7 separate regions of the Homo sapiens genome follow, and regions 1, 2, 3, 4, 6 and 7 are each linked to region 5. The links are contacts of gene promoters, found by promoter capture Hi-C in blood cells and fetal thymus (Javierre and others, 2016). All regions are on one chromosome and are shown on one strand. Each heading gives the region's core, a stretch centred on a gene start or on the middle of the fragment in contact. The rest is flanking DNA. Distances are from core to core; before and after follow the strand shown.

Region 1 (3,941 bases), core at 718-3,217, 200 kb before region 5:
GAAAAAAAGATTTTCCAGTGTGGTTAAGAACCACATCTTATGAGCTGTTCTTTGCCTCCCTCTTTAAGAATTACCAAGTATTTTTAAAAATTGGAACTTAACATTCAATTCATTGCTTGGATATATCTAAAGCATTTCTTAAGAAACCCCTGGGAATGGATCATAGGAAATTAGGGGAGCGTTTAGAAGATGATTGGAAATACGATAGTGAAAGGGAAGAGAAAAATGACCTGAAAATGAGGACTTTACATTTCCAATTTTGGATTTTGTTGTTGTTTTTCTCTTTCTGTTAGAGTTACTCTGTGGTCTCCTGTTGGACAGTCTGTTGCTAAAAGCCATTAGAGATTTCATAAAAACTACTGTTTTGAGTTGCTGGAACTGAGATTCCAGAATAGTGTTGGGTAGGTTAAAAGAATGGCTTAACCAAAGTAAACAGCATCCTTTGGTTACTTGCAATTTAAGAGACCCATTTTCCCTTCAGAATATTTTATGTGAGAGACTTTGGGGACTACCTTACTGCTATTACATCTCATAATGTTATCTGGTCACATTTCTTGTTCTGCCTACCTCTAGTTTACTCTAGTTTCTCTTCTGCTTTCAAGGCTCCAGACCCAGTTCCTGGACCTGCCCTGGAAAAGAAGTATCCCGTAGAGATGAGCTCACTGCAGTTACTTAATTAACAATTTGTAAGCTGCAAAAATGGCAATGGGCCAACCAAGAACAGCTACAATTTGAATTTTTCTATTTCCAGGTATGCTAAAGTCCATGGCACCAGTCAAGCTTAGCCTGTGTAACTGCCTTATTATTAAATCTATAGTAACTAAAACTTGACTTTCAAAACTTATAGTCATCTTGCTTTAAAGTATAGTAACACTAACATCTAGGTAACATGCAGCTAGTATTGAGTTTAACATACCTTTTGCCTGAATATTTCTAATTTAACTTGTTTGCTAGTAGTAGCAAACTAATGCAAAAACATAAGAAAAATAAATGTGAAATGCTATTGAGTGAAGCCGTATAAACATACCAAAAAAAATTGAAAAACAAACATCAACAACAACAAAACTGCCTTTCTTTAAAAGGTTTACATTGAGTACAAGCAGTATAGGGAATTCAGTTAATGAAACTACTTCCCTCTTCCTGAGATCCTCAACTATTCTACCCTACTAATGCCTTTACCTAAAAAGTTGATATATTCATACATGGCGAAACCCCGCCTCCACTAAAAATGCAAAAAAATTAGGCAGGCTTGGTGGCGTGCACCTGTAGTCCCAGCTGCTTGGGAGCCTGAAGCACGAGAATCACTTGAACTGAGGGAGTCGGAGGTTGCAGTGAACTGAGATTGCACCACTGCACTCCAGCCTGAGCAACAGAGTGAGACTCCGTCTCAAAAAAAAAAAAAAAGGTTAATATATTCTTCAGTAATTGGAAATTAGACATATTATTTCTGGATAGAACCGAGCAATGTATTATATAGTACTTTACCTGAAGAATTTAGTTATATTTTTAAACTAAGTGTATAACTAATATTTGCTAATATTTTACTTGATTACCCAAAAGAAACCAGCCAAGGAAGTTACAAATAGTCAGAGTCATCCTGGAGTGTAACAACAAAACCAAAAACTGAGGTTTCCTAATGCCTTAGATTTTAACCAAGAGAAAGCTACTCATGAATGGTTAGAGGGCCAAGATCAATTAGCTTTTAAGGATATTTATTCCTTTTACCAATATATATAGATGTAGAAACAGAATTAATCCCTGAAAGATGAGTTTATTTACTAAATGGGTAGATAATCATACATGTCTTTTGATTTTAGTTCAGTTTATCTAGGTTAGAGATTACCGAAAACTGAAGAGGAATTTTGTATCCCAATTGTGAATTTAAAAGGCAATCCTAATATTCTAGCATGTGCTTAACTCCTTCCTTACATCCCTTCCTGCAGTATTAATGCATAATGAATTTAATGTCTGGCAATTTAGTCAGCATTAGGTCACTGATTATGTGCCACATTATTTGTTTGGTGTTTAAAGAATTATGTGTCACTGAGTGTTGAATTAGAGCTGGAAAGGGAGCTACTAGTTAGGGTCATTACCACTGTTAGGTGAATTGAAGTAGAAATTGAAGAAGGAATTACATATGAATATCAAGTCTTAGTTATTTTCAGTGGTGCTATTAATGGTGAAATTTTTCTCCATTATTCAATGTAAATAGACACAGCTGGGATGTAGAAATCAATAAACCTTGTTTTAGTGAGCTTACAGACAAGTAATATGAAAGTATCGTAATAGAGATGCATACAACATACTTAAGAGTACTGGAGAGAATCAGCTTTGTGGAGAAGGTAATGTTTCTGCTGAACCATGAAGGATAAATAGAATTCTTTAGAGAAAGCAGCAAGAGTATTTCTAAGTTATGGAGATGAAAGTATTTAATATATTATAGAAATTGTGAGCAGTCCAGTGTGCATAGAGAATAGTTGGATAGGGAGGGGTGTGATGGGAGATGGAGCTATGTCATGTTTTTTTGAATGTCAGATGAAGGAGTTTGGACTTTAATAGGCAATGGGAATCCGTTGAAGATTTCTCAGAACTGGTATGTGTTAAGTCAGTGAATCTTTTGAAAAGCTGACTACCGTAGAGTGAGGGTTGAATTGATGAAGTTAGAGGTTAGGCAGTAGTAATGCCTAATAAGGGACATTTACTCTGTCAGGCATTGTGCAAAGAGTTTTACCTGCAGTTTCTCACTTAATCCTCACTACTGGAATATTGTAAAAAGTAACTGAAATAATACATGTTTAAGGCATTTAGCACAGGACTTGGCTCATAGTAAGTGTAGAACCAAAGTGATTATACTCTAGGCTCAGAGAAAACAGCGTGTCTTGTCCACCTTTGTATATGATAGTACAATAACTTTCCATAAAGGTATTGTGTTTATTGGGAGACTCTTATATTTAATAGTAACAATAAGCCTACTTCTTTTTCTACCACCCCTTACCTCTTTCCTTTAATTAATTAAACCATCTCATTGGTAGATGTGTAATACTTAGTCAGTTTGAGTGCTTGCATAATAAATAGTTCACCTTGAGTTAGCCTTTAGGTAAAAAAAAAAGTCACCTGGCTTCTTTGTTTTAACCAAGGATTACAAATTATGACACTAAGCTTAGACATGGTTAATCATGGATGGACCTACATATATAAATTCATAAGTAACATTTAAGTTAGAAAGTAACTGTAAATCTCATCTATCAAGCATCCTGATAATTGGTCAGTGCTGCAGCTGTAAACTGCACATCCATAACAGTTTCAGCATAGACAACACAGGCTTTGAGTTATTTGAAGGTACCTGTGGTTGGCTAATACAGGTACCTTCAAATAACTCATTCTGTTCTATTCTTACTCTATCTACATATCAGAATACAAGTAATATTATAGAGAAATATATAAGGAATAACTTTATAGTAATGCATGAATATGTGTTATTATAAAAATTGGGACAGATGACTAAACCTCCTTGGAATACCTTCCATCCATGTGTCCTTCTACTCAGCCCCCTCTCCAGAATAATTAGTGTGTGTATACTTTCAGAATCTTTCCTATACAATCATATAAAAATATCTGTTTAAAATACATCTATTTTCAGCATCATAGGAAAGGACAAAACATTTTTTAAAAGCTTTTTAATATAATGCATCTTTTGTGTGTCTTTATTTTTACACAAAAGGTGTTATACATGGAATCTGCATCTTGATTTTTTTTCAGTCAATAAGGTCTTATAGGTCCATATAATTATTTGGATATATTTGTCCATATAATTATTTGGACATCATATTCCACTAAACAACAACAACAAAAAGCTGCATGGTGTTCCTTAGTGTGGCTATGCAATAATGTATTTATTTATTCCTCCTAGATGGCCATTGAGGTTGTTTTTAGAAGCACAC
Region 2 (4,122 bases), core at 1,492-3,991, 190 kb after region 5:
AAGCTAAGGCACAAGAAAAGCTTGAACCTGAGAGGCAGAGGTTGCAGTGAGCTGAGACTGCACCACTACACTCCATTCTGGGTGACTGAGTAAGACTCTGTCTCAAAAAAAAGGCCAGGTGTGGTGGCTCACTCCTGTAATCTCAGCACTTTGGGAGGCTGAGGCAGGCGGATCATTTGAGGTCAGGAGTTCGAGACCAGCCTGGCCAACATGGTGAAACCCCATCTCCACTAAAAATACAAAAAAATTAGCCGGGCACGGTGGTGCATGACTAGTAGTCCTGGCTACTCGGGAGGCTGAGGCACGAGAATCGCTTGAACCCAGGAGGCGGAGGTTGCAGTGAGCTGAGATCGTGCCACTGCATTCCAGCCTGGGTGATAGAGTGAGACTCTGTCTTAAAAAAAAAAAAAAAAAGTACACATAACAGTATTCATTAAAAAGTTTTACCTTGGTGAAAGAGTGACGACTTTTCAGGTACATCTGTGGAAGCATCCCAGTGCCAGAGGGATCCATCTTCAGAGCAGGTAAAAAGATGTTCTGGGTTGGATGGGTGAAAGTGAACTTCCCACACTAAGAGACAAGAATCAATAAGCTCATTCCTGTGCAGATTCGCTGAACAAACAACATTAAACCCCCATCTCTAGGCATCATCTTCCATTATCCTCCATCACATACCTTCGAGCCTCAAGTCTGTCCTAAAAATTAAAGGCTTCAGAATTAAAGAAAAGACATAATGTAACTTTCCAATGGCTATAACACATAGAAAGGAAAAAGAACACTTTAGGAGGCTAAGGCGGGTGGATCACCTGAGGTCAGGACCAGCCTGGGCAACATGGTGAAACACCATCTCTACTAAAAATACAAAAGTTAGCCAGGCGTGGTGGCGCGTGCTTGTAGTCCCAGCTACTTAGGAGGCTGAGACAGGAAAATCACTTGAACCTGGGAGGCGGAGGTTGCAGTGAGCCGAGCTCGCACCACTGCACTCCAGCCTGGGCGACAAAGTGAGACACTGTCTGAGAAAAAAAAAAAAAAAAGAAAAGAAAGGAAAAAGAAGCCAACTAAATTTGCGTACTGGGCAAGGAAATAAATGAAAATAGTAGCCAGGCACAGTGGCTCATGCTTGTAATCCTAACACTTTGGGAGGCCAAGGTGGGTGGATCACTTGAGGTCAGGAGTTCAAGACCAGCCTGGCCAACGTGGTGAAACTCCGTCTCTACTAAAAATACTAAAAATTAGCCAGGCATGGTGGTGGGTGCCTATAATCCCAGCTACTCAGGAGGCTGAGGCAGGAGAATCGCTTGAACCCGGGAGGCAGAGGTTGCAATGAGCCAACATCACACCATTGCACTCCAGTCTGGGCAACAAGAGTGAGACTCTGTCTCAAGGAAAAAAAAAAATGTCCAGGCGCAGTGGCTCATGCCTGTAATCCTACCACTTTGGGAGGCCGAGGTGAGTGGATCACCTGAGATCTGGAGTTCAAGACCAGCTAACCAACATGGTGAAACCCCATCTCTACCAAAAATACAAAAAATTAGCCCGGCGTGGTGGCAGGTGCCTGTAATCCCAGCTACTTGGGAGGGTGAGGTAGGAGAATTGCTTGAACCCGGGAGGCAAGGTTGCAGTGAGCTGAGATTGCATCACTGCACTCCAGCCTGGGCAAAAAGAGCAAAACTACGTCTCAAAAAAAAGAAAAGAAAATCATTGCTAAAACATTTAACCCTATTACTTTATGAAAAAGCTTATTTTATTTTATTTTTATTTTTTTAAATAGAGACAGGGTTTTGCTATGTTGTCTACCTTGGTCTTCTACTCCTGGCGTCAAGCAATCCTCCTGCCTCAGCCTCCCAAAAGTGCTGGAATTATAGGTGTGTGCCCAGCTAGGAATGACTGTCTTTTACGGAAAAGTTTTTTTTTAAATTGGTAAGTTGTCTTATTTTTCAATTCCTGTGTCATTAATATATGAAGATTATATTATTGGAAAAACTGAGAAAGATCCTAATGAAATATAAAAATGAATTTCTAAGAGGCAATATCCAATATTGGTTAATGCCAAGATTCTGAATACTTCTGGTCTTTATCACAGAAATAGCAACTGACTTCTACCAAACCAAAATTTGGAAATGTTCCAAGAATTTGGATCCAGTCTCAGATGGAGGGCTTTTTATTTTTTATTTGTTGATTATTTATCAAGAAAAACTATTTCTTAGCCCACATATGTATGCTTCATACTTTAGGAACATAGGTCAGTGACAAACTTCTACATAATTCAACTCAAAGAAATTCTCTCTCTCTTTTTGAAACAGGGTCTTGCTCTGGCGCCCAGGCTGGAGTGCAGAATGGCATGGTCATGGCTCACTGCAGCCTTGACCTCCAAGGCTTAAGCAATCCGCCTATCTCAGCCTCCTGAGTAGCTAGGACTACAGGTATGTATCACCATACCTGGCTAACTTTTGTATTTTTAACAGACATGGGGTTTCTCCATGTTGCCCAGGCTGGTCTCAAACAACTGGGCTCAAGAGATCTGTTTGCCTTGGACTCCCAAAGTGCTAAAATTACAGGCATGAACTACCGTGCCCAGCCCCAAAGAAATTCTATATATTCCAAAATCACTTTCAATTCTGAAAGATACCAGTCTTCCTCATTTCCTCAAAATCTGTTTTGTTTTGTTTTTTTTTTGAGACGGAGTTTCACTCTTGTTGCCCAGGCTGGAGTGCAATGGTGCGATCTTGGCTCACCACAACCTCTGCCTCCCAGGTTCAAGTGACTGTCCTGCCTCTGCCTCCCTAGTAGCTGGGATTACAGGCATGTGCCACCACGCCCGGCTAATTTTGTATTTTTAGTAGCGACGGGCTTTCTCCATGTTGGTCAGGCTGGTCTCGAACTCCTGACCTCAGGTGATCCACCTGCCTCGGCCTCCCAAAGTGCTGGGATTACAAGCATAAGCCACCGCCCCCGGCCATCATTTCCTCAAAATCTTTTATGGAATCATAATTTCTATAGAAATCTAATAATAAAAAAAATTAGCTAGGTGTAGTGGCATATACCTGTAGTCCCAGCTACTCAGAAGGGCAAGGCAAGAGGATCACTTGACCCCAGGAGGTTGAGGCTTAAGTGAGGTACCATGCCACTGCACTCCAGCCTGGGCAACATATTGAGACCCTGTCTCTACAAAAAATAAAAAATTAGCCGGGTGTAGTAGGGGTGCGTGCCTGTAGCCTCAGCTACTCGGGAGGCTGAGGTGGGAGGACTGATTGAGCCAGGGAGGCAAGGCTGAGGCTGCAGTGGGCTGTGATCATGCCACTGCATTCCAACCTGGGTGAGAGAGACCCCATTTTTAAAAAAATATATAGGGCCGGGCGCAGTGGCTCACACCTGTAATCCCAGCACTTTGGGATGCCAAGGCAGGCAGATAACCTGAGGTCAGGAGTTTGAGACCAGCCTGGCCAACATGGTGAAACCCCATTCCTACTAAAAATACAAAAATTAGCTAGGCATGGTGGCAAATGCCTTTAGTCCCAGCTACTAGGGAGGCTGAGGCAGAAGAATGGCTTGAACCCAGGAGGCAGAGGTTTCAGTGAACCGCGATTGTGCCACTGCACTCCAGCCTGGGCGACAGAACAAGACTCTGTCTCAAAAAAAAAAAAAAAAAAGGATAATCCATTCTGGCATGATATCAAAGACAGAGTGAGAAAATGAAAAATTTCTGTCCGGCTAAATCATCTCCACCAGAATCAAAAGAAAAAAAAAAGCTTATAAATCTATTGTTCATGTTAAAAAAAATGATGTGATGCAACAATAAATTGAGGAGCACAACATTTATTAACAAATATGACAGCCTGCATTTGCATGGGAAAAGGGCATTCTTGCACACTTCACTATGGCATATAAAATGGTATGATTTTTATCACTTTTCAGGGAGTGGGGTCTCACTATATTGTCCAGGCTGGAGTGCATAGGTGCAATCATAATGCACTACAGCCTTGAATTCCTGGACTCAAGCAATCCTCCTGCCTCGGCCTCCTGAGAAGCTGGTGCATGCCACTCACCTGGATTAAACTAGTATTATTAACTTTTTAAAGAGGTTATGTTGCCTAAGCTGGCCTCAAACTCTCAGGCTCAAGC
Region 3 (3,762 bases), core at 194-2,693, 150 kb after region 5:
TCTGCTCTCGTCGAGGATCTTGGTAACTCATTTTACTAATGAATTCAATTGCTGCTTCTATACTTCTGTTGTTAGTTTTCTGAAGAGCTTGTATAACCATATCCTGATATGAATTGAAGTTTAAAAAAAAAGAAACAAAATTTAAATCTTACAATAATACAAGGGAAAGAACACTATGAGTTCCACTAGAGAAATCCATAATTATGAAGAACACAGCCCCAAACCATGATATTAATGTTCTGTTTGTAGCTACTAAAAACCCCGCACAAAATCTCAACTAAAACAGGCAGGGCGCAGTGGCTCAAGCCACTTTGGGAGGCCGAGGTGGTCAGATCACTTAAGACCAGGAGTTCAAGACCAGCCTGACCAACATGGTAAAAAACCCAGTCTCTGCAAAAAAACACAAAAATTAGCTGGGTGTGCTGGCGCACGCTTGTAATTCCAGCTACTCAGGAGGCTGAGACATGAGAATTGTTTGAACCTGGGAGGTGGATGTTGCAGCAAGCTGAGATGACCACTGTATTCCAGCCTGGGCAACAGAGCGAGATGCTGTCTTGGAAAAAAAAAAAAAAAAGAAAGAAAACAAAACCCTCAAATCTTCCAAATGTTTCTTTAGCATTTTCATCTTTATGTAACATATTTCTATTTCCTCCTAGGATTAACGTCTTTTTTTAAAGTATTTTTAAATTTTTATTTTTTTCAACACACCATTGTTGGCTTGAATTAGGATTAACAACTTCTCTGGGTACAATCATAGCAACATGATTCTGATTACTTCTAATTCTTTTTACTTTTTTTTTTCTGAGATGGAGTTTCGCTCTTGTTGCTCAAGTTGGAGTGCAATGGTGCGATCTTGGCTCACTAGCAACTTCTACCTCCTGGGCTCAAGCGATTCTCCTGCCTCAGCCTCCCAAGTAGCTGGGATTACAGGCACGCTCTACCAGGCCTGGCTTATTTTTTATACTTTTAGTAGAGACAGCATTTTACCATGTTGGCCAGGCTGGTCTCAAACTCCTGACCTCAGGTGATCCACCCACCTCGGCCTCCCAAAGTGCTGGGATTACAGGTGTGAGCCACTGCTCCCAGCTTCCTAATTCTTATATAAACAATCAGAGACTATCAGATTGTTAAAAAGGTAGCAATCAAAATATCAGAAACAACTCTTTTGGGCTGAGTGCGGTGGCTCACACCTGTAATCCCAGCACTCTGGGAGGCCGAGGCGGATAGATCACCTGAGGTCAGGAGCTCCAGACCAGCCTGACCAACATGGTAAAACCCCATCTCTACTAAAAATATAAAATTGTCTGGGTGTAGTGGTACGTGTCTATAATCCCAGCTGTTTGGGAGGCTGAGGCAGGAGAACCCAGGAGGTGGAGGTTGCAGTGAGTACAGATCACGTCACTACACTCCAGCCTGGGCAACAAGAGTAAAACTCCGTCTTAAAAAAAAAAAAAAAAAAAAAAAAAAAGAACTACTTTTTTATATGAGTATCTTGGTATTTTATTAAGCACATTGCCATTGTGCATAGTAGTTCTGGCTCTTATCCTCTTAGAGATTACGTTTTCAGAGAACTATATTACAGGAATACAAATATAAGACAAAAGAAGATACTTAGACTATATATGATTATGTGATAAAGACTTTAGGAGGCTATATAGTACGATGAAAAAAACAGAGGATTTGGAATCAGACAGATGTGAGTTTGAGTTCCAGCAGCTCTGTAAAGTAGAGTGACACCTGGCAAATTATTTCACATTTCAGAGGCTCAGTGTCTTTGCCTGTAATAGGCTCATAGGGTTGATGTGAGGATTAAATAAGAAAACATGTAAACTACCAAGCACAGTGCCTGGAGCTAAAATGTTGGCTGCTCTCTTCCACTCCTTGTACTTTATGTTTTATATAAACATAAATCACTCACTATCATGCAGAAAGTATGTTGACATGCATTTTTCAAGAGGGAGGCAACTACTTACTTGTCCTAGAGGATTCAGTATTTCAAACGACATTTTTAAATGAGAAATGGCTTAGTAAGACTAATGGGTGAACAGGCTACTGACAGATGATCCTCCTATATGAAATGATAAGAGAAGAATGTGAGACCAACCAAAGAAAGGATGTGGTAAGAACTTATTGCCTACCTAAGGTCATTTCTCCCTTTCTTAGAAAAAGTTACTGATTTTGTTGGAAGCAGCAAGGGTTGCCATAAAAATTTTGCCATGCCTGCCTTATCTAGGTACTGGTCCTTCCTCGACCCCGTTTCCTAGGCAACAGATATGACACCTGTGCTAGAGCATGTTGCCACCAAGAAGTAAAATTTAAGATATTCATAAGAGTCCTAGGCTCTGAAATCTTTAAGACGTTGAGCTAATCGTAATTAACTGAATCACTATCTTGCTAAAAGCATTATTATTTAGATTTTTGTTAAAACCAAATATGTGTAAATGTAAAATAATAGAAATCACCCATTAAAATTCATCAGGGAGTGTTTAATTTTAAAACTGGTTAAGTCAAGTGAACTCTATATGTATTTATGCTATTATTACACAGCAGTAACATCTCCATTGGTAAGAAAATTAGCACCCACTACCCTTTTCCAATATTGTGGGAATCATTTTTCTTTTCTTTTTTTTGTTTTTGAGATGGAGACTCGCTGTCGCCTGGGGTTGGAGTGCAGTGGCGTGATCTCAGCTCACGACAATCTCCACCTCCCGGGTTCAAGCAGTTCTCCTGCCTCAGCCTCCAGAGAAGCTGGCATTTACAGGCGCCCAAAAACACGCCTGGCTAATTTATATTTTTTAGTAAATATATAAAAGGTTTTGCCTTGTTGGCCAGGTTGGTCTCGAACTCCTGACCTCAAGTGATCTACCCACCTTGGCCTCCTGAAGTGCTGGCATTACCGGTGTGAGCCACCACACCCGGCCCATATTCTTGTTAAATGCACTAGAATTTCAGCCTTGTGATTCTGGTGATTACTATGCTAACCTTTATATTTTAATATTTATTGCTATGTTTTACAATATTTCTTATAGCTGTAAAAACATCAACCAAGCATTCATTAAGTGGAGGTGTTAGTGCCAGTGTGAAAAAGAACGCTCAAATCAGTAACTTTGGAATGGGAGTCTTTTTTTTTTTTTTTCCCATTAGAGACAGGGTCTTGCTCTGTTGCCCAGGCTGGAGTGCAGTGGTGCAACCACAACTCATTGCGACCCAATCTCCTGGGTTTGAGTGATCCTCCCACCTCACCCTCCTAAGTGGTTGGGGACTACAAGAACATGCCACCACACCTGGCTGATTTTTAACTTTTTTTTGTAGAGACAGGGTCTCACTATGTTGCCCAGGCTGGACTTGAACTCCTGGCCTCAAGCAATCCTCCTGCTTTGGCATCCCAGAGCACTGGAATTACAAGAGTGAACCATCACACCCAGCCAGAAGTCTTTTTTTTTTTTTTTTGAGGCAGAGTCTCACTCTGTCGCCCAGGCTGGAGTACAATGGTGTGATCTCGGCCCACTGCAACCTCCGCCGCCCAGGTTCAAGTGATGATTCTCCTACCTCAGCCACCCAAGTAGCTGGGACTACAAGCATGTGCCACTAGGCCCAGCTAATGTTTTTTTTTTCATATATTTTGTAGAGTCGGAGTTTCACCATATTGGCCAGGCTGGTCTCGAACACCTGGCCTCAAGTGATCCACCCGCCTTGGCCTCCCAAAGTGCTAGGATACAGGCGTGAGCCACCATGCCTAGCCAGAAGTCTTATGTGATAAGA
Region 4 (3,724 bases), core at 330-2,829, 240 kb before region 5:
CCCAGCTACTCTGGAGGTTGAAGCAGGAGGATCACTTGAGCCCAGGAATTTGAGGTTACAACGAGCTATGATTGTGCCACTGCACTCTGGGCAACAGAACTAGAACCTGTCTCTAAAAAAGAAATTTTTTTTTAAATGTTGCTAGATAAAAGCTTCTGGCTAAAGGTAGAAATATACCTTTTTTCTTCCTATTTTTGAAGAATTTTTGTCTCTATGTATTAACGATATAGGAACAGTATCTTGTATAGGACTAGGAAGATGGAAAACTAAAAATAGACCCCTGTAATCCTGGTGAATCCAGGTAAGGGATCCATCCTAAAATATCTATACATTGTTAACAGTTATTCTGATTTTAAAAAATTTTAAAGCTCTTGTTTGTATGTTTGATTCTAATAAAAGTAAGAATACAACAGAGTGGTTTTGATCAATAAGATGTGTTTGCTGAATTGTGGGTGCGAGGTTGACAGGGTCAGATAATTTTGGTTATAGAGCTGGTTCTGTCAATAACTCTGACCTTGAGCAAGTCACATCAGTTTCTGCACAGATAAAATAAGGGAGTTGGATGAAAAAGTCTTTAAAATCCCTTCCAGTTGTAAAATTACACGATTCTGTGAGGTATTTTAAAATTCAATATTGGACTGAAAATTACTCTTCTGGATCATTCTCTTTCCTTCAGCCTTTTCCTGATTCAGTGTTAATCCTTGAGCATAGCTTAGTGTTATGCAGCATAAACTTTTGTCAGTCATTGGTTAGGAACCATCTTTTACCCCACCTTCACCCTCTTCCCCAACACACACCTTCCACTGTGGTTAAAAGAAAGACCCAATGTCAGACTGAGGAAATTCATCCTAAGGAGGCAATGGCAGGGAAGAGTTGGCAGAAGGCCAGGAGAGCACTGGGGGGGTGAAAGGAGTCCATACCATTAGTTCTTAGCTTCAAGACCTAAATCATGGAATTAAAGTATCCTAGTCTCTGCATCCTGCTTCCTGGAAAGAGAGAATCCTGACTCAGCTACTCAAGCGTATTGGATTCAACTTGGCAAAAATGAACCTATATGCAAATTGAAATTGCTATATCAGGTGCTATGCCATTCAGAGCTTGGGGAGTCTTGCTGTGGGAGAAACCTGGTAGAATTTGGATGATGACAAGAGGCCATCTTCCTTCTCACACTTGGAATTATCATGAACTAGGCTAACAGGCAGAGGTCCACATTGGGATGGCTGGAGCCACATCTCTGTAAGAGAGTAGAAGCTCTTGGCAGGGTGGTCAGCAACCACTGAACATTACCAGGGACAAATCCCTTGCACTTAGGACAACCAAAACCAGAAGGCACAATGAGAAGCCAGCAGTTACCAAATTTAGCCTCAAGGGACATTTGAATTCTCTGTCCACCAGCAGACAGTAACAGGGGAACTACAACAATGCTAGAAGAAAGTTGGAAAGCCTGCCAGTTAAGCAGTGGGTGCTTGGGGCCATTATAAACTGGAGTATTAAGGGAATTATCATCTTACCTATGTATTGAGGTTGTTGAAGCCTTCATATATAGATTACATTTTCAACTATAAAAATTTCTTAAAGTGAAGGCCAGCAGGAAGTTAATAAGAGAATGAAATGGTCATTTCTGTACATTACACATATACATTCATCAAGAAAGCATAGTGGGGAGAAATATGAACCCATCCTTGTAGGTGCTAACTCAATGAATACCAGTTCACATTTTCAAATCTTTTTGTTTGTTTCATTTATGTAAAAGTTGTTTCATACTACAAGAACTGTATCTTCATTTGAATGTTTCCACATAACATTTCTTCTTTAGTCGTGTGCATTGTGACTAAGAGCTCCATGTATTTAACCACTACTTTTCAACAAACACTATTTACTGAACATGTTACAACCTTTAAAATCTTATTTTTATAATTTCAAAATAAATCACTTTTATAAAGCTCTTGAGTTAGTCACTAAGCTACTACTTTGGAAAATAGAAGTAAACTTTGAAAGATTATGGCACGTTTGCTCATTAAATTCTTATATCATTTAATACAAAACTATATATACAATTTGTAAAATAACTTCGGTGAAGAGTTATTATAAAATTAAGCCTATCTCCAAAAATCCAAGCAGAAAATCACTTCGGCAGATACAATGTCTTATCATTGTATATGTTAAAAATCTCTCAATCAGCTTCTACAAACTTACAGCCTGTTCTGTTTCATATAGGTATTCAAAAATATGTCCAAGATAGACTAAAGAGCAGACACTGTCATTTTCCCAAATGCTAGAAAATTATGAACATATATATGTATTTATATTTTGTATTTATACAAATATATAAGCATATAACATTACATATATGCACTTTAACCTGAAAAGGCATATATCGAAATGTTAACAGTGGGTAATTCTAGACTTAGACTTACTTATAAATTTTATCTTCTTTCAGTTCATTTTCCAGGTTTTCTAAAATATCTATGTATATTTTTGAAGCATAAATATTTATTGAAACCCTATATATGAATATTTTATGGCTTGGAAAGATGGCCCTAATAAAAGGTAGTTAATTGGTAGTGCACTTCCAACTACAGGGAGTATAATTGCCCAAAGGCCTCTGCTGCTGTTCTCCGAAAATCTGTCTCTGCATTCATGCCAAGGCCACAGTGATTGAACCTGATAGAGTTACTATTGCAGTCTCCTTCATGGGAATTGTAGACTCTTCTGATGATGGAGGAGTCCACGTCTCCCAGCTCTTCTACTAAAGTACTCCTCAAGGTCTTGCTGAACTTTCTCTGCACTACATGGCAGTCTAGGATATTACCACTCACCTTCCCATCTTTCTTTGCTTCACTTGGGGTCATATCTATCTATCTATCTCCCAGCCTCTCCCCACTTTCTTTCACAGATTCATATCTTATCAGCAGGGTCCCCAACTCCCAGGCCACGGGCCAGTACTGGTCTGGAGGCTGTTAGGAACTGGGCCACACAGCAGGAAGTGAGCAGCAGGTGAGCCAGTGAAGCTTCATCTGTATTTACAGCCATTCTCCATTGCTCCTATTACCTCCTGAGCTCTGCCTCCTGTCAGGTCAGTGGTAGCATTAAATTCTTATAGGAGCACGAACCCTATTGTGAACTGCGCATGCAGGGGATCTAGGTTGTGTGCTCCTTATGAGAATCTAATGCCTTATGATCTGTCACTATCTCCCATCAACCCCAGACAGGATTATCTAGGGTTGATGAGAGACTGTCTACTTACAGAAAAACAAGCTAAGGGCTCCCATTGATTCTACATTATGGTGAGATGTATAATTATTTCATTATATATTACAATGCAATAATAATAGAAATAAATGTAATGCTCTTGTGGCCTTGGCACAATAAATGCAATGCTTTTGAATCATCCCAAAACCATCCTTTCCACTGTCCCATAGTCTGTGGAAAAACTGTCTTCCACAAAACCGGTCCCTAGTGCTAAAAATGTTGAGGACCGTTGCATCTAATCATGTCTTGATGTCTGCTAGTCAGAGAAGCTGAAATAACACAGGCTGCAAAGCAGGATACCCCATTATTATATTTTGGTTGGAAAAATGTATGTGTGTGTGTTCACATTATGTATTTATATATATAAATATAAACATACATAAATCTATGTATGTTTACAAATAGAAGAAAATACAGAAGAGTGGCTTTCTCTTGATAGAATAATTATAGGTAATTTTTTACTTGCCTGTAT
Region 5 (3,961 bases), core at 1,210-3,709:
ATTCTTTTTTACAACTTTTTCTCTTTCCTTTAGTATTTTTCCCTTTTCCCTGTCAAGTTTTTTTTCTTTTTTAACCTGTCACTTATGTGGTACTTAAGCTCATAGTTCCATTTTTTCTTGTTTTTTTTAAAGAGACGTTATATTTTAGAAATACATACTGAAGTAATTACAGATTAAATAGATGCACTGGAGGTGGGGGTATTATAAATGAAGCAAGATTGGCTATGTGTTCACAGCTGTTAAACAAAGCTGGTCATGTGGACATGAGAGTTCATTTACATGATTCTCTCTACATCTGTGTTTTAAATTTTCTATAATAAAAAGTTAAAAAAGAAAAGGAAGAAAGAATGGAAGGTAGGTAAGTCTGGATATGTTGATCATAGATTGATAAGTGAGTATAAATATAGCAGGTACACATGTAAGCACATCTCCAGTCATATGCTTACAAATATGTACAGGGGGTGGACTTATTGTTATGGGCTTATCTTTGCAGACCCACTGCTTGTTAATTGGGTGGGGTAGCTCTACACCCCTTTATTTCCTCATAACTCTGGGAAAAGAGGCCCATTTATTTTGCCAGGTGCTACTCTACATGGGCAGAGCGTCAAAGGAACTCAAAGAAAAGCAAAATCAAGAGATAAAAAACAAAATTCCCTATGATATTCTTTGAAACACTCGATCCAGCCACTCGATCCAAGCTTACCCCAGTATTATGAGGCAACCAATTATTTTGTTTATGCCAGTTTGAGTTGGGTTTCTATCACTTGAACAAAGGGTCCTAACTAATACAACACATTTATATCCATTAGTCATCATAATGAACCTCTAGTGTGTGCCCTAAAAGTAGCAGACATTGTACTGGGTACTCAGGATATAGAGATGATAATTATGGTATAGTTCCTGCTCTCATTGGAGTTTACATTCTTGAGCGAGGGCACGCTTGTAAACAACACCAGGATAATAGGTAAATGTTAAAATAAAATGTGTCATGTGGTTTATAAAAGACCTAAGACACAGCAGAGGAACCCTCAGGTAACTCTGCTTAGAAAGGAGGGAGAGCTTCAAAGAAGAGATGATGCTTGATCTGAGATTTAGATAATAAGTAGTAAGTTTGCCAGAAGGACAATAGTGGAGAAGAATATTGTTTAGAAGAAACAGCAAAAGAATGGTAACAATGGTACGGGAGAGTTTGTAGTGTTTTCGCCAGGTGGAGAGGAGGGAGGAATAGCTGCGTGCGAGGGAAAGCGGAGCACGGCAGGAGGTAGTTATTGTACAATATTGCAACTTATTTCACCTTCTTTGATAGGCTCTGCATTCCATGTGGGTAGGACCCTGTTTGTAACTAATCTCTCCTGGTCTCAGTTTCTTCCTGACTCTGATACATTCTCCACACCGCTGCCTATTATCTTCTCAAAACAAGTATGCCATGCCTCAATCCTGCTTTTAAAGTCTTCAAGGACTCTGATCATCAGTAGGGCACACAAGACTATTCACGACTGACCTAGGCGTATCTGACCACACTCGAGTCTACCATTCCACGACTCACACCAGTCCTTCCAGCCACACCAAACTACTTGCCGTTTCCAGAAAATTCCAAACAAAGAAAGTCCAAGCTAAGAAAACCCTCATTCCCATTCATCTTTGAAAGAACTAGTTCAAGTGTTCTATATAGTATTCGCTAGCTTTGCTTCTTCCCACCCCCCACCAAAGAAGCCGCCCTCTTCTGGTTTCCGTGGCAACTTACACATTCTTCTACCATAACACATAGAAAACTAAAATGGGTTCCTGTGTCTACTTCCCCCAGTGGAAAAATCAGACCCTCGGGGGCAAGAAGCCAAGCCCAGGACTTAGCCCAGTGCCTCGAAGGCTCAGTCCACACTCCAGACAACCTCTTCCTCCTCCACCTAAGCGGTATGCCCACACTCGCTGCGCCAAGCACACCCTAACTGCCTTCATCAAGATTTAACCGATTACACACCAAGCAATAGTTCCTATGTTCCTCTCACGAGTAAACACAATAAAGGCACAAAAGCTATGGGTATTGTATGTGCAGCTCGAATCACACACACACACGCCCCACACACACACTCCCAAAGGCAATTAATGACCGCAAGCACCGTCCACCGGACTGGCCAACACAAAATACGGGAGAAGGGCTGCCAAGGCTCAAACGAATTCCCGTCACAAAAACTTTTCTAGCCAAGGCCGGTTAATAAAATAGCCCAGTCGCGGGCACCAGCAGCCCAGAAGCTCGAGCTCTAGCCAATCTCTGCCCTGGACTGCGCAGAGAAGGGAAAGTAGGGAGACAAGCTCGGGGGCCCCGGCGACAGGTGAGTGGGGCTCAAGCCTCACCACGCGGCCGTTCTTCGGTGTACAAGTCGATGACGACGTCGCCTAAAGTGGTCTCCAGTAGAACCGCCATGGCGCCCGCTCCTCCTCCGCTACAAACCCCGGGAGGAGGGGGGTGACAGGCGCAGGCCGACGGCGTCGTCTACGCCACGCGTCACCCTCGGCGCGACCCCTTTTGCGTCATCTCGCCGGCGCCGCCCCCGGTTCCGAGCAGTTCCTTCCGGTCGGCGTGCGGGCGCCGGGCTGCCCAGCTGACTTACGGATCGGGTTGGTCCCGCCCCCGGCGCGGCCGTTTTGAAAATCCTGGTCCGCCCTTGGCGATTTTGGTGGAAGCCTGTCCCTCAGAACGGTCTCAGTATAGTGTTTTGTGCCCCGTTTGTGTCCGTCTCAAGAGCAGAGCGGCCCTCCGCGCGGCCCTTTTATCCACCAGGGGGCGCCCGCGGCGGGATCTTCTCTCCACCTATTTGGGCGGACTCCTCCGGGTTTCCTCGTCAGTCTCCTTTTCGCAAAACAACTTTGGGCCTCTACTAGGGGTTTCCGATTCTAAGAACTAACATTTTGTTTTGTTTTCTGTTTTGAGACAGGGTCTCGCTCTGTTGCCCAGGCTGGAGTGCAGTGGCGCGATGTCGGCTCACTGCAACCTCCACCTCCCGGGCTCCAGCGATTTTCCTGTCTCAGCCTCCCAAGTGACCACAGGCGCGCGCCACCACGCCCGGCTAATTTTGTTCTTTTATTTTTTGTAGAGATGGCGGTCGGGGGAGGTGGTCTCACTATGTTGCTCAGACTGGTCTCAAACTCCTGAGCTCAAGGAGTTCGAACTCTTCCCGCCTTGGCCTCCCGAAGTGCTGAGATTACTGGCGTGAGCCACTGCGCCTGGCCAAAACTAACATTTTGCCATGCAAGTTTATTCCCCAGACACTCTTCTGGGCAAGCCTGTCACTCTTTCTTATGACATTTTACACATAATCTCCAATAACTTCACATCTGACGAAAAGCCAAAGCTTTTTTTTTTTTTTTTTTTTTTGAGACGGAGTCTCGCTCTGTCGCCCAGTCTAGAGTGCAGTGGCGCGATCTCGGCTCACTGCAAGCTCCGCCTCCCGGGTTCACCCCATTCTCCTGCCTCCGCCTCCCGAGTTGCTGGGGCTACAGGTGTCCGCCATCACGCCCGGCTAATTTTTTGTGTTTTTAGTAGAGACCGGGTTTCACCGTGTTAGCCAGGATGGTCTCGACCTCCTGACCTCGTGGATCCGCCCGCCTCCGCCTCCCAAAGTGCTGGGATTACAGGCTTGAGCCACCGCACCTGGCGGAAAAGCCAGAGCTTTTATAATGATTTACAAGATCCTCTCCTACCCCATCCTACGCCATCTTCTTATTCCTCTGAAGCCACAGTAGACAGTTTGCTATTCCCTGAACACTGCTGACATACTCCTGCCCCATGGCCTTTTCACTTGCCTTGGTTGAGGGACCTCTTCCTCCAGTTATTTGTATGGCTCCCATTCACCTCCTTCAGGCGCTTTGGCGTCGGTCACCCTGTCAGTGAGGCCCTCCATGGCTGCCATAATTAAAATTAACCCCACAGACACTTCTTTTTCTCCATATAGCTTTTTCTCCA
Region 6 (4,087 bases), core at 653-3,152, 230 kb after region 5:
GGATTACAAGTGTGCACCACCACACCCGGCTAATTTTTGTATTTTTAGTAGAGATGGGATTTCACCGTGTTGGCCAGGCTGGTCTCAAACTCCTGACCTCAAGCGATCCACCCTCCTTGGCCTCCCAAAGTGCTGGGATTACAGGCCTGAGCCACTGCGTCTAGCCCTTAATTTTTTAGTTTTTGTTTTTTTTAAGACAGGGTGTTGCTTTGTTGCCCAGGCTGGAGTACAGAAGCATGATGATGGCCCACTGCAGCCGAGACCTGCTGAGCTTAAAAGATCCTCCCACCTTAGCCTCCTGAGTAGCTGGGACTATAGGCACATACCACCACCCTTTACTTTTTAAAAACATTTTCTGTAGAGATGAGGACTCACTGTGTTGCCCAAGCTAGTTCTGAACCCTGGAGCTCAAGCGATCCTCCCACCTCAGCCTCCCAAAGTGTTAGCATTACAGGTGTGAGCCACTGGGCCGGGCTTTCTTTTTTCTTTAAACCATAGATTAGGAATGACTTTTTTGTATATTACCTATTCAATAAGTGATTAAAAAGAAAAGTTATAGTCTTAAGATAATCTGCAAACAGTTTGAACTACTACTGAAGGGGGAATTAATGAATTTTATAAGTATAATGGTAGAAAAATTTATTCTTTTTCTTGAAGGTAGAACGTAATATAGCCCCACCCCACCCCCCCACTCTGGTGCGGGGCCCGGGTTGAGAGAGAATATTAACTGCTTATCCCTCCTCTATGCGCAGAGAGGCTTATCTGTGTTCCATCGTTTTACATTCCTTGAGGCACAGCGAGTTCTTGCTTCCCTCCCTAGCTCGGCTGTAAAGTCACAAAGTTGATAAGCAATTGCTACAAAAGCATGTATTCCCAAGGATGTAAAACATATGGTGTAACAAATGTAAAAGAGTAATTAACTGCCTTTGATCTCGCTTCTGCAAGTACCCTTCCTGCAGCACGTAACTCCCTAACTCCTGCCACAAACTGCTTAAAAGGTGATTGATCCCTTTGTTCAGGGATCAGACTTTCTGGACCCTAGTCCGACTGCGCCAGTGATCACCTTAATAATTAGACACTCTCCTGAACTGTGCTCAGTCTCTCCCGTCTCTGATTTGTCCCACAACACTACCTAAATGAAAGATTTATATAGAAGCATGAATGTGACTGGGCGGGGTGGCTCATGCCTGTAACCCTAGCACTTTGGGAGGCCGAGGCAGGTGGGTCACCTGAGGTCAGGAGTTCGAGACCAGCCTGGCCAACATGGCAATATCCCGTCTCTACTAAAAATACAAAAATTAGCCACGTGTGGTGGCAGGAGCCTATAATCCCAGCTACTCAGGAGCCTGAGACAAGAGAATCACTTGGACCTGGGGAGGGTGCAGGTTGCAGTGAGCCAAGATCGCACCACTTCACTCCAGCCTGGGCAAAAGATCAAAACTCTGACTCAAAAAAAAAAAAGAAGTATGAATGCTAAAAGTCATTTTGGAGAACCAGTATCTAGCATGGTTGGGAAATTGACTGGAGTGGTATGCTTTCAGGTATTAAGGGAAATACTTTGTGATTTTTTTCTTTCCCCTGAAGTTTGGTCTGGGTGTCCAGTTCATTGCTGAACAAAGCATAGCAGTTACTTCATGGCAAAAGATGCATTTTAAAACAACAATACAAAACAGCTTTATTAAGATACAATTCTTGGCTAGGTACAGTACCTTGAGCCTGTAATTCCAGCACTTTGGGAGGCCGAGGCCAGAGGATCACTTGAGCCCAGGAGTTTGAGACCAGCCTGGGCAACATGGTGAGATCCCATCTCTACAAAAAATAAAAAACATTTAGCTGGGCGTGATAGTACGTGCCTGTGGTCCCAGCTATTCTGCAGACTGAGGTGGAAGGATTGCTTGAGCCTGGGAGATGGAGGCTGCAGTGAGTCATGATAACACCACTACACCCCTGCCTGAGTGACAGATCAAGACCCTGTCTCAGAAAAAAAAAAAAAAGGTATAATTCTTATACTGTAGAATTCATCCCTTTAAAGTGTAGAATTCTGCAGTTTTTAGTTTATTCAGAGTTACACAAACATCAGCACTCTCTAATATGAGGTTTTCATCACTGCAGAAAGAAACCTTCCTTATACCCATTAGCAGTCAGATCCCAACCCCTGCTCTGCTCAGGTCCTGGCAACTACTAATCTATTATTTGTTTCTATAGATTTGCCTATTCTAGACATTTCATATAAATAGAATCATATAATATGTTGCCTTTTATGACTGACTTTTTAAATTTAGCATAATGTTTTCAAGATTGATCCCTGTTGTAGTGTGAATCAGTACTTCTGTCCTTTTTATGACTGAATAATATCCGATTGTATGGATATACAACATTTATCTATTAACTGTTGAGGGACATTTGGATTGTTTCCAGTGTTTGGCTATTCTAAATAATGCTGCAGTGAACATTTGTGTACACATTTTTGTGTGTTTTCATTTCTCTCGAGTATTTACCTAGGAGTGGAATTACCAGATCATATATGAAAACTCTATGTTTAACATTTTGTGGAATGGCCAAACCGTTTTTCAAAGCAGCTGCACCATTTTACAGTCCCACTAGCAATGTATGAGGGTTCCAGTTTCTCTGCTTCCTTGTTAACATTTGTTATTTTCTTTTTTTAAAAGAATTTTATCCATCCTAGTGACTATGAAGTGGTGTCTCATTGTGGTTTTGATTTGCATTTCCCTAATGATGAATGATGTTGAGCGTCTTTTCATGTGCGTTTTGGCCATTTCTGTATCTTCTTTGGAGAAACATTTATTCAGTCTCTTACCCCTTTCTTGTTTTTTTTTTTTTGTTTTTTTTTTTTAGATAATTAAAACTTTTTTTTTTTTTCTGAGACAGAGTCTCGCTCTGTCACCCGGGCTGGAGTGCAGTGGTGCCATCTCAGCTCACTGCAACCTCCGCCTCCCAGGTTCAAGCAATTCTCCTGCCTCAGCCTCCTGAGTAGCTAGGATTATAGGCATGCACCACCACACCTGGCTAATTTTTGTATTTTTAGTAGAGACAAGGTTTCACCGTGTTGGCCAGGCTGGTCTTGAACTCCTGACCTCGTGATCCGCCCACCTCAGCCTCCCAAAGTGTTGGGATTACAGGCGTGAGCCACGGCGCCCGGCCAAAAAATTTTTTTTAAAGACAGGGTCTTGCTATGTCGCCCAGGCTGGTCTCAAACTCCTGAGCTCAAGCAATCCTCCTGCCTGTGCCTCTCAAAGTGCTGGGATTACAAGCACGAGCCACCATAACTGGCCTCTTGACCATTTCTTAATTGGGTTATTTGTCTTTTCATTGTTAAAACTGTATTTTATATAAATGCATTAAAATTTTTAATTGTGTTAAAATACACATAACATAAAATTTACCATCTTAACCATTTTAAGTGTACCATTTAGTAGTGTTAAGTACATTTACATTGTTATGCAATCAGTCTTCAGAACACTTTTCATCTTGCAAAACTAACACTCTATACTCATTCAATAACAATTTCCCACTTTTCTCATTCTTTCTTTACCTCAGCCCCTGGCAACCACCATTCTATTTTCTGTTTCTATGAATTTGGTTCCTCTAGGTACATCATATAAGTGGAATCATAAAGTGTTTGTCTTTTTGTGACTGGCTTATTTCACTTAGCATATGTCATAGCTTATGTCAGAATTTTCTCCCAAAGCTGATGCATTTTTAATTACTTATATTTTCTGAGCCATCTATGACTGTTAATAAGGAAAACTTGTGTATCTATGTATGTATATAGTCACATGAAACATCTATATGAATGTTTATATATATGCACATAACAGTAAGCATACAGTGCAAGATGTGAATAGGGTAAAATATTTTTAATTGTATTATATGAATAAGCAGTTGTGATCTTGAATCATTTATTGCATAAATCTTAGCAGTATTATAAGACAAGCAGAAAGTGAGGATGCAAAGAGAAATGACATCTACATCTAATGAACCTTAAAATCACAAGCTTGGAATTAACTATAATCCTGGAATATTTTCCAAACCTGTAAAGAAAAATGTGATGCGTGCAGTGGTGAAG
Region 7 (4,001 bases), core at 579-3,078, 220 kb before region 5:
GGAAAATACTGCTTTTGGTTTTTAGTTGATCTCTTTGTTAATTTTTCAGCTTCTCAGCCCCCACCTCTTTAACTAAATATCTTAATTTTACCGTGTTGGGAGTCAATGAAGTATAATAAAAGTTCTGGGCTTTAAAACCAGATGAGCCCAAGTTCAAACCTGAGTTCTGTTGCTGACTATAGCTATGTGATTTTAGACATCATTCACACACTCTGAGCCAAGGAGTTTTCTTCAGAAAAATGGATATAGTAATACCTACCTTACATAGAACAGGTGAATTCTTGTTCTAGTTACATTAGGATATGTAGCTTAAGTAATTGGAAGTAATTTTACATTTGGAATTTTGCTTCGTTAGGTTTTTTCTTCAAGGTATCTGTCCACTTCATTTTTCCTCAACAAATAGAATGAAAAAAGAATTTCTGTACTTTTTAATTTACTGTAACTCCTTAGACCAAGATGAAACAAACAAAACATCATCATTATTTTTTTAACTACAAAATAAACATACGGATTGTTAATTCTTTGTATTTTTCTTGCCTGTTCCTGTGGGAAAAGCTGCATTTTCAATTTGAAATTAGTCCACAAATCTATAATATAGTTCTTCTTTAGGAAAAGCATTAGAAAATTGGCATGGATAAGATTTTGAAAACACCTCAAATATGAGGTTTAATATAATACTACAAAACTTGTGCCACTTTATCTGTGTAAAATGATCTTTATACTTTTCTGTTATGTTTATGTTTTAAGACAGTGTCTCGCTATGTTGCCCAGGCTGGAATGCAGTGGCACAACCACAGCTCACTGAAGTCTTGACCTCCCAGGCTCAAGTGATCCTCCCACCTCAGCCTTCCAAGTAGCTGGGATTACAGATGCGTACCACAACGCTCAGCTTACTTTTTATTTTTTGTAGAGAAGGGTTCTTCCTATTTTGCTTAGGCTGGTCTTGAGCAGCTAGGTTCAAGGAATCATCTTGCCTTGGCCTCCCACCTAAGTGTTGGGATTATAGGTGTGAGCTACCACACCCAGCCTGTTTTAACAGCAGCTATAGCAATGGTTTTATATTTTGTTAATAAGTTATCTGTATTGCTATAGTACCAAGAAGAGTAAACAAATTGTATTATTATGTTAAAATATTGGTTATACAAATAGCATTCAATACTAATTATTACAGCAAAATAGTCTACAACAGTTACACTGGTTTACTCAGTAGATTAAGACAAAAATTTTTAGCCTGGGTGACAAAGCAAGACCCCATCTCAAAAAAAAAAAAAAAAAAAGACAGTTTAAAAAAGTCATTGCATTTTATTAAGTTCATAGGCTTAGCACATTCTGTAGTGTATATACATGAAATCTCTTAGCCTAGAGGTAATAAATATGCTTTAATCTTACACGTGTGCAGTTTTTATGCAATCTGTAAAATAAAACCAGAAGCACAAATAGGAGATTGAACCATTAATCATTGGATAAATGACATGTTATCATGGCAGAAAGAATTATAAGGTACATGTTGGTCTTTTCAGCCTTGTGTTTTTGTTATTATTTTTTTTTTTTTGAGACGGGGTCTTGCTCTTTTGTCCAGGCTAGAGTGCAATGTTGCAATCTCAGCTCACTGCAACCTTTGCCTCCTGGGTTCAAGCAATTCTCCTGCCTCAGCGTCCTGAGTAGCTGGGATTACAGGCGCCCACCACCCTGCCTGGCTAATTTTTGTATTTTTAGTAAAGACAGGGTTTCACCATGTTGGCCAGGCTGGTCTCGAACTCCTGACCTCAGGTGATCCACCCATCCTCAGCCTTGCTTTTTTAAGCGGTTTTTAGCTTTTGCTGTTGGAAAAGTCAACATGTAGAGTGAAGTATTATGCACAGAAATTTGATTTTTGTTTTGATCAAATGCCATTATTTAGAAAACCTAACATTTTCACATCCTTTTGGATAGGTCACTTAATATCAGTAATAATTAGGTCAGCAAATTAATTTTGCTTTTTTGTAGTTTGCAAGAGTTTATCTTATGTTCAGCAAAGCTAATAATTGCATAAAAATTTAAGTGGGAGAAACTGGCCTTTAAATATTAATATTCAGATCTGTGGTACAAAGCCTATTATACAGATATTTGCTTCCACATTCTTGATATCCTATGGACTATTTTGTCTTTTACACTTTTCTTTTATACTAGCATTTCCTGATTGTAGGTTTCTATTAGGGTTGTCATCATTATAAAATATAGGCAAGATGGTCGTTTTTTAAAAATTTAAGACAGATTAAATGTTCCATTTAATTACTGAGCACAAATTATGTCATAGTTGCCTGGTTAATTTTATTGATTTATTATTTATTTGTTTAGAAATGGGGGTTTCGTTATGTTGCCTAGGCTGGTCTCGATTTCTAGGCCCAAGCCATCCTCTTGCCTCAGCTTCCCAAGTAGCTAGGACTACGTATGGCATGCCACTGAGCCTGGCAACTTGGTTAATTTTTAAAAGGCAATTAGTGACCTGATAAACATGAGCGTCTGCTGTTCAGAAGTTAAGCAGCTGTATGTTGCAGATGTATGTAGGTGTCACAGTTAAGTAGTTACTAGAATTGTGAGAAAATGTGCTCAAGGAACCATCCAAGGGATCCGTGTCAAATAAAAGTTGCTAGAAATACAGATATTTTATAATTTGCATTGAGAGTGACTTACTGTTTACCCCATGATTAGCATGTACCTGAATTGTACTTGACTAAAGTACTGCTTGCCAACTCTTAGGATGATTTTATAGGAAATGGAAAAATAAGCACATGGAAATGGGGATTTCAGAAGAAAATTCCCACTTCCACATATGGCGATTCTGCTTTTTTGCATATAAAAGTGCATTGACACGTGTTGAATGCCCTTTGAGATTGTCTAGCTAAGGTAATTGTTTGGCCTGCATGAGACATACTCATTCTCTTCATGAGATTTTTCCCCTCATGAACATTGCCATACATTTAAAGGATGACAGAGCCATTGCTGTAATTTTGCAAGTGGAACAAGAAGTAAGTGCTCTTGTTGAAGGTAATTAGTTCATTACCTAATTGAAGTTAGTTCATTACCTAGTTGAAGTAATTAGGTAGAAGATTGAAGTGGTCATCTTAACCAAACCAAGCTATCTATCAGTATATCAACTTTTATAGAATATCACATGATCGAAAGAACAGAAACTCCATAGAGCGTATTTCATATGTCTTCTATGACATGCTTGTGCAGAATAGCTGGCTAACCCAAGAAATCTTGCCTTACTCATTCTTCTATTGTGTCTCATCTCTACATTCTGTTTGTTTTGTTTGAGAGGGAGTCTGCTCTGTCCCTCAGGCTGGAGTGCAGTGGTGCAGTCTCAGCTCAGTGCAACCTCCACCTCCCAGGTTCAAGCAATTCTCCTGCCTCAGCCTCCCAAGTAGCTGGGACTGTTGGTGCGTGCCACCACGCCTGGCTAATTTTTTGTGTGTTTAGTAGAGACAGGGTTTCACCGTGTTAGCCAGGATGGTCTCAATCTCCTGACCTTGTGATTGGCCCGCCTTGACCTACCAAAGTGCTGGGATTACAGGCACGAGCCACCGCACCCGGCCTCTACATTCTTTATTATTCAAACTACCTTACTTATCCAATAGTTTTGAGTTCCTGCTGTGTGCCTGTACTTTGCTAGGTCAAAGGGGTGGACAGATATGTAAGATACAGTTCTTGTCCTTAAGAGACATATATACAAACACATGTGATATACTGTGACAAATGCTGTGACGGGGTTAAACATAAAATACTTTAGGAATCCATAGGAGGTAGTGTCTCCTATGGATAAGGATTAGGCAGTATCTCCTATTCAGTAAGGGATGAAAGGATATGACAGGGAAATCTTCCTAGGAAAGGTGACACTTAATCTGAGTGTATATCAGATAGGCAAGGAAGAGAGTTACAGGCTGCAGATAGGTCTTTTTAGATAGAGAGAAACACCATGCATGAAAGATGGAGGTAGGAAAGTCCACATGTACACAGTA

What was found. The method cuts DNA at HindIII sites, captures the fragments that hold promoters and counts their contacts. A CHiCAGO score of 5 or more calls a contact.
Region 1: a contact is called between a fragment that was not itself captured here and the fragment with the promoter of PPIL4 in region 5, in 2 of 17 cell types (naive CD4 T cells and non-activated CD4 T cells). The highest score is 8.4, in naive CD4 T cells.
Region 2: a contact is called between a fragment that was not itself captured here and the fragment with the promoter of PPIL4 in region 5, in 2 of 17 cell types (neutrophils and naive CD4 T cells). The highest score is 7.4, in neutrophils.
Region 3: a contact is called between a fragment that was not itself captured here and the fragment with the promoter of PPIL4 in region 5, in 3 of 17 cell types (naive CD4 T cells, non-activated CD4 T cells and total CD4 T cells). The highest score is 8.3, in naive CD4 T cells.
Region 4: a contact is called between a fragment that was not itself captured here and the fragment with the promoter of PPIL4 in region 5, in 1 of 17 cell types (neutrophils). The highest score is 5.1, in neutrophils.
Region 6: a fragment that was not itself captured here is called in contact with the fragment with the promoter of PPIL4 in region 5 in 2 of 17 cell types (neutrophils and non-activated CD4 T cells); the score reaches 7.7 in neutrophils.
Region 7: a contact is called between a fragment that was not itself captured here and the fragment with the promoter of PPIL4 in region 5, in 2 of 17 cell types (neutrophils and naive CD4 T cells). The highest score is 7.8, in neutrophils.

What each region holds. Positions count from the first base shown.
Region 1 is chr6:149,342,083-149,346,023 of GRCh38, forward strand. All of the region lies in intron 1 of TAB2 (TGF-beta activated kinase 1 (MAP3K7) binding protein 2), which reads left to right. Among named protein-coding and RNA genes, the nearest start is that of TAB2, 26 kb to the left of the region's middle. The HindIII fragment of the contact is 2,379 bases long and covers 779-3,157 here.
Region 2 is chr6:149,731,166-149,735,287 of GRCh38, forward strand. It overlaps NUP43 (nucleoporin 43), which reads right to left. Exons shown (of 8, transcript NM_198887.3): 7 at 448-570. Among named protein-coding and RNA genes, the nearest start is that of NUP43, 13 kb to the right of the region's middle. The HindIII fragment of the contact is 2,011 bases long and covers 1,737-3,747 here.
Region 3 is chr6:149,695,119-149,698,880 of GRCh38, forward strand. It overlaps LATS1 (large tumor suppressor kinase 1), which reads right to left. Exons shown (of 8, transcript NM_004690.4): 3 at 1-103. Among named protein-coding and RNA genes, the nearest start is that of LATS1, 21 kb to the right of the region's middle. The HindIII fragment of the contact is 9,773 bases long and covers 1-3,762 here.
Region 4 is chr6:149,299,890-149,303,613 of GRCh38, forward strand. It overlaps a transcript of TAB2 not described here. Among named protein-coding and RNA genes, the nearest start is that of TAB2, 16 kb to the right of the region's middle. The HindIII fragment of the contact is 2,859 bases long and covers 151-3,009 here.
Region 5 is chr6:149,543,584-149,547,544 of GRCh38, forward strand. It overlaps PPIL4 (peptidylprolyl isomerase like 4), which reads right to left and starts at 2,460. Exons shown (of 13, transcript NM_139126.4): 1 at 2,353-2,460. The coding sequence starts at 2,422. RefSeq lists enhancers at 2,350-2,649, 3,353-3,961. The HindIII fragment of the contact is 2,652 bases long and covers 697-3,348 here.
Region 6 is chr6:149,778,363-149,782,449 of GRCh38, forward strand. The region is part of intron 3 of PCMT1 (protein-L-isoaspartate (D-aspartate) O-methyltransferase); the gene reads left to right. Among named protein-coding and RNA genes, the nearest start is that of PCMT1, 31 kb to the left of the region's middle. The HindIII fragment of the contact is 4,222 bases long and covers 1-4,013 here.
Region 7 is chr6:149,325,014-149,329,014 of GRCh38, forward strand. The region is part of intron 1 of TAB2 (TGF-beta activated kinase 1 (MAP3K7) binding protein 2); the gene reads left to right. Among named protein-coding and RNA genes, the nearest start is that of TAB2, 9.3 kb to the left of the region's middle. The HindIII fragment of the contact is 9,509 bases long and covers 1-4,001 here.